2 separate regions of the Homo sapiens genome follow, and region 2 is linked to region 1. Evidence: promoter capture Hi-C in 16 types of primary human blood cells and fetal thymus (Javierre and others, 2016). All regions are on one chromosome and are shown on one strand. The core of a region is centred on a gene start or on the middle of the fragment in contact, and the rest is flanking DNA. Distances in the headings are between cores, read along the strand shown.

Region 1 (2,744 bases), core at 124-2,623:
AAACAAATAACACCAAGTGTTGGTGAGAGAATGGGAAAACGTAAACATTCCTATTCTGCTGGTACAGGTGAAACCTGAAGCAGCCACTCAGAAAAAGAATTACCAGGCAATATTTAGTGAGACTAAATGTGCATATGTTCTATGACCGAGCAATCCTCCTCCAAGAATGTATCCCAGAAAAATATTGAGTCAAGTCCAATGGGTACATGCATGAGGATGTCCAACACAGTGTTTTGGTGATAATGGGAATTTTGAAGCAAGCTGAGGATCCACAGTAAGGAATGGATAACAGATCAATGTGCATGATGACATTTTAAACCACAACTTTTGCATACAGCCACCTGGATATATCCTACAAACATATTGTCAAGTGAAAAATAAAAAACCCATCATTAATTCTAAATCACAACATTTACGTAAATTTAAAACACAATGGGCAACCACTCCATCTTGAAAGATATTGAGGTGTCCAAGGATTTGCGTGAAACAGGTTGGATGGATGCAAGCGGCAGGAGGAAAAAGGCAGCTAAGATGGGATGGGGAAGGAAACTTGAATAAATGGAGGGTTTTTAATGGGCTGATGCTCATGGTGTGTCTTAAACTAAGGAGTGTAGTTAATTCTACACTTTGCCCTGAGGTCTAATTTTTTTTTTTTTTTAAGAGACAGCATCTCGCTCTGTCTTCCAGGCTGGGGTGCAGTGGCGGGACCATGGCTCACTACAACCTCAATGTGCCAGGCTCAAGCGATCCTCCCGCCTTGGCCTCTCAAGTAGGTGGGACCACAGGTGTGTGCCACCATGCCTGGCTAATTAAAAAAAAAAATTGTAGAGATGAGATCTTGCTATGTGGCCCAGGCTGGTCTCAAACTCCTGGCCTCAAGCAAACCCCAAAGTGCTGGGGTTACAGGCATGCACCACCACGCCCAGCCCTAAGGTCTATTGTTTTTTTAATTAACTCACAGGGTTTGACAATTACAGGAGAAAAAAAAAATGATTTCAAATGTTTCTATCAAATAGTTTTTCTACATCTATTGATAATAATGATTTTTCTATAATAGATGTAGAAAAAGCATTTGATAAAATTCAATACCTCTCCATGATTTAAAAAATAATTCAAAGCAAGATAGAAGAGAATTTTTTAACCTGATAAAGGGTATTTATAACAGCTTTGTAGCTATAAAGGTGACCCTGGAGGCAGATCTGGGCTGAGTGAGTCACAGGAGTGGGGGAAGGTTAAGCCTCCCGGTCATGGTCTGTTACATAAAGAACCTGGAGGGGAGAGCTCTGAAGCTGGAAATTCGAGGGGCACCCAGGGGTCCCCCGTGGTCCCAGCAACACAGAATTTCACATTGGTACATCTTCCTCTCGTAGGGATGAACCAGACTTTGAATAGCAGTGGGACCGTGGAGTCAGCCCTAAACTATTCCAGAGGGAGCACAGTGCACACGGCCTACCTGGTGCTGAGCTCCCTGGCCATGTTCACCTGCCTGTGCGGGATGGCAGGCAACAGCATGGTGATCTGGCTGCTGGGCTTTCGAATGCACAGGAACCCCTTCTGCATCTATATCCTCAACCTGGCGGCAGCCGACCTCCTCTTCCTCTTCAGCATGGCTTCCACGCTCAGCCTGGAAACCCAGCCCCTGGTCAATACCACTGACAAGGTCCACGAGCTGATGAAGAGACTGATGTACTTTGCCTACACAGTGGGCCTGAGCCTGCTGACGGCCATCAGCACCCAGCGCTGTCTCTCTGTCCTCTTCCCTATCTGGTTCAAGTGTCACCGGCCCAGGCACCTGTCAGCCTGGGTGTGTGGCCTGCTGTGGACACTCTGTCTCCTGATGAACGGGTTGACCTCTTCCTTCTGCAGCAAGTTCTTGAAATTCAATGAAGATCGGTGCTTCAGGGTGGACATGGTCCAGGCCGCCCTCATCATGGGGGTCTTAACCCCAGTGATGACTCTGTCCAGCCTGACCCTCTTTGTCTGGGTGCGGAGGAGCTCCCAGCAGTGGCGGCGGCAGCCCACACGGCTGTTCGTGGTGGTCCTGGCCTCTGTCCTGGTGTTCCTCATCTGTTCCCTGCCTCTGAGCATCTACTGGTTTGTGCTCTACTGGTTGAGCCTGCCGCCCGAGATGCAGGTCCTGTGCTTCAGCTTGTCACGCCTCTCCTCGTCCGTAAGCAGCAGCGCCAACCCCGTCATCTACTTCCTGGTGGGCAGCCGGAGGAGCCACAGGCTGCCCACCAGGTCCCTGGGGACTGTGCTCCAACAGGCGCTTCGCGAGGAGCCCGAGCTGGAAGGTGGGGAGACGCCCACCGTGGGCACCAATGAGATGGGGGCTTGAGAGCCGCCCACAGGTGCTTCCCACCTGTGCGAGCCCATGCCCTGGAGATTCCCGAGCCGTGAGCTGCCTCCCACCTCGTCCCTGCCAAGTGTCTGGCCCGCCTTCTTGGGGGAGCCCCAAGGACTTTGCAGCTGCATGTGGGGGTCACTTCCCTGCATGTCAAAACTCCCCACAACACCTGTGTCCTGGATCTCACAATGCAACCCCGCTGGAAGATGCAATTTATTTGTTTATAGCAGATTATCTGGTTGGGGGAAAATATTAGCTTTTAGCCCTACCCTGCTTTAAGCTGGTTATCTATGGGTGGATAACAGGAATCTCATTTGAATATGAAAGCTTTCTCCCAACCACCTTCTCTGCCTAAGACGGCATCTTTGTGGAGGAGGCAGGTGACCTCGGGTGATCT
Region 2 (2,744 bases), core at 169-2,668, 680 kb before region 1:
TCAGGATAACGCCTTGGCTGTGTCTCTCTGGCACCCTTTACCAGAGCAGCTGGGCTTGGGTTGCAGGGATGGAAGCCTTTATCTCAGGCGATACCTGAACATGTAGAGTATGTGATGCTTGCTGAGCTAGAGGCTCATGGATTGATGTCCCTCTGCTGGTTCCAGTGAGTATGTGCCCCTGAAATTCGAGGGGACTGTGGAGGCTGCTTCCAGGCTTTGAGAGCCCAAGTCTGTTGCAAATTGAATTGTATCCGCAAAAGGAAACGTTGAAGTCCTAGCTTCTGGTACTTTAGCTTCTGTGACTTTACTTGGAAATAGGAAATAGGGTCTTTGTAGATTTTTTTAAGATGTAAATTGGGCCAGGCGAAGTGGCTCACGCCTGTAATCCCAGCACTTTGGGAGGCTAAGGTAGGTGGATCACGAAGTCAGGAGTTGGAGACCAGCCTGGCCAACACAGTGAAACCCTCTCTCTACTAAAAAGAATAATAATTTAAAAATTAGCCAGGCATGATGGTGGTGCCTGTATTTCCCAGTTACTCGGGAGGCTGAGTGAGGCAAGAGAATCACTTAAACCCGGGAGGCGGAGGTTGCAGTGAGCTGAGATCACGTCACTGCACTCCAGCTCAGGCAACAGAGCAAGACTTTGTCCCCCCCCAAAAAAAAAGATGTAAGTTAAGGTGAGGTCATACTAGAGTAGGGTGGCCCCTTCGTCCAATATGACTGGTGTCCTTTTAAGGGGACGGGAGCCAGTGGCACAGAGGAGAGACTGCCACGTGAAGACATGGGGCCGATAGCCCTGTGAGGACAGAGGCCGAGTTTGGAGCTGCGCATGGACCAGCTGAGAAGAGCCGAAGGTCGCCCGAAACCACCAGAAGCTGGGAGAGAGCGGGCACTGCAGACACTGCTGGCCTCTGGAACTATGAGAGAAATGTTGGTTGTTTTAAGCTGCTGAGTGTGTGAAAATTCATTACAGCAGCCACAGAAAACTACAAGGCCCCTCTCCCTGCCTGGGCTTCGTTTGCTGGTCTGGAGGGTAAGGGTGCCGGCCACACCATCCAGACACTTCTGGCCTTGCATGTGGGGCCTCCTCAGGGATTTGCCTGGACTCCCCCAGGTCTCAGCCGCCACTGAGGGCAAGTGGCGGGAGCCCCCGAAAGGCGCTGTGACCGCAAGGCTCACTCTCCAAGAGGCCTCTGCCTTCTGGGAGGCGCAGCTGCCCTGCACAGAGGACTGAGTCAGGGTCCACCAGAGAAGGCTGGCTTGAGCCTCTCCCCTGGTCTCAGCCCCTGCAGGCACTATCCGGCCTCAGAACTTGGGATATGGATGTGGTCAGGCCCTTTCTCCAGGTCAGTTTGGTCACACGTGTGCTCTGTTACACACAGAGTGTGTGCCATGGAAGAGGGACCTGTCCCTTCAGACAGAGCAGTTCTAGGCATACTTCTGGGCACTGGTGGCCCCAAGAGGAGTCATTCCCTGACCCTGTGGAACTCCCAGCTAAGCAAGACAGGCATGTTGAAATTCCAAGATCACATGGTAACTTTGTCAGTCGCTCCTGTTGTTTATATCAATCATAACATGTTAGATCTAGAAGAGGTAGAAAACACACACAAGCGGCCGGGTGCGGTGGCTCACGCCTGTAATCCTAGCACTTTGGGACGCCGAGGCGGGTGGATCACGAGGTCAGGAGATCGAGACCATCCTGGCTAACACGGTGAAACCCGGTCTCTACTAAAATACAAATAATTAGCTGGGCGTGGTAGCGGGCGCCTGTAGTCCCAGCTACTCGAGAGGCTGAGGCAGGAGAATGGCGTGAATCCGGGAGGCAGAGCTTGCAGTGAGCCGAGAGCAGGCCACTGCACTCCAGCCTGGGCGAGAGTGAGACTCCGTCTCAAAAAAAAAAAAAGAAAACACACACAAGCTGTAATAGTTAAGTGTCTTTGAAAACCAAATGACACAGTGCCCATATCAAACTGACTTAATGAAGGACAATGATTGGCTTCTGGAACAAAAGGGGGATGACTTCAGGAGAGGCTTGATCCAGCAGTTTGTCTGGAGACCCATTCCCTGCTTTCCCTCAGGGCTGGCCTTACGCTCAGCCTCCCCTGTGAGGTCCTGGGAGCAGCTCAGTCTTCCCTTAGGGCTGCAGGGGGGCAGTGCCACCCCTGGGCTTGTGTTTCCCTGCTGGGAATCCTAAGGAAGGGGGAAGCATTATCTTTTTCAGAAGCTCCAGAAAATGTCTCCTCAAGACTCAATGGCTCTATTTGATTTCTCACCCATCCATTAACTTGCTGCTCTTCTGGTGGGTGTGGATGTGCAGTTGGGTTTCAGCCTATGAAGACCTGGCCTGGAGCTGGGGATGGGTTCGGTCCCACTCAAACCACAGATCTGGGAATGGTGGTTCCCTGGAGCAAAGTCTGGGTGCTGTCAACACCAGGAGGGGGCATCCGTGGTGTCAAGAAGACCCAGAACTGTCTACTTAATGTGCCAAAGGAGGGAAGTAAGATCGGCTTTGGTGCCACCACCCAGGCGGCCGCCGTGGCATGGAGGCCTGTGCTTCCAGACCTGGGCAGTGCATGGAATGCTGATGGTGATTATGCGGATGCGCCGAGGGGATGATGGCGTTCCCTGAGTGATCACTGCACCCCAAGCTCGGTGCTCAGCAGTGCTTCACACACATTGAGCCATAGAATCCTCAGCACCCCAGAAAGAATTCAGTTATTGACAGAGATTTATGGAGCCCCCGT

The links. Contacts are between HindIII fragments. The CHiCAGO score rates a contact against its expected background, and 5 or more counts as called.
Region 2: a fragment that was not itself captured here is called in contact with the fragment with the promoter of MRGPRD in region 1 in 1 of 17 cell types (total B cells); the score reaches 5.1 in total B cells.

The regions. Positions count from the first base shown.
Region 1 is chr11:68,979,615-68,982,358 of GRCh38, reverse strand. It overlaps MRGPRD (MAS related GPR family member D), which reads left to right and starts at 1,373. Exons shown (of 1, transcript NM_198923.2): 1 at 1,373-2,338. The coding sequence starts at 1,373. The coding sequence ends at 2,338. RefSeq lists an enhancer at 1,884-2,393. The HindIII fragment of the contact is 14,944 bases long and covers 1-2,676 here.
Region 2 is chr11:69,659,595-69,662,338 of GRCh38, reverse strand. No RefSeq gene overlaps it. Among named protein-coding and RNA genes, the nearest start is that of LTO1, 14 kb to the left of the region's middle. RefSeq lists enhancers at 484-984, 985-1,485. The HindIII fragment of the contact is 3,510 bases long and covers 1-2,744 here.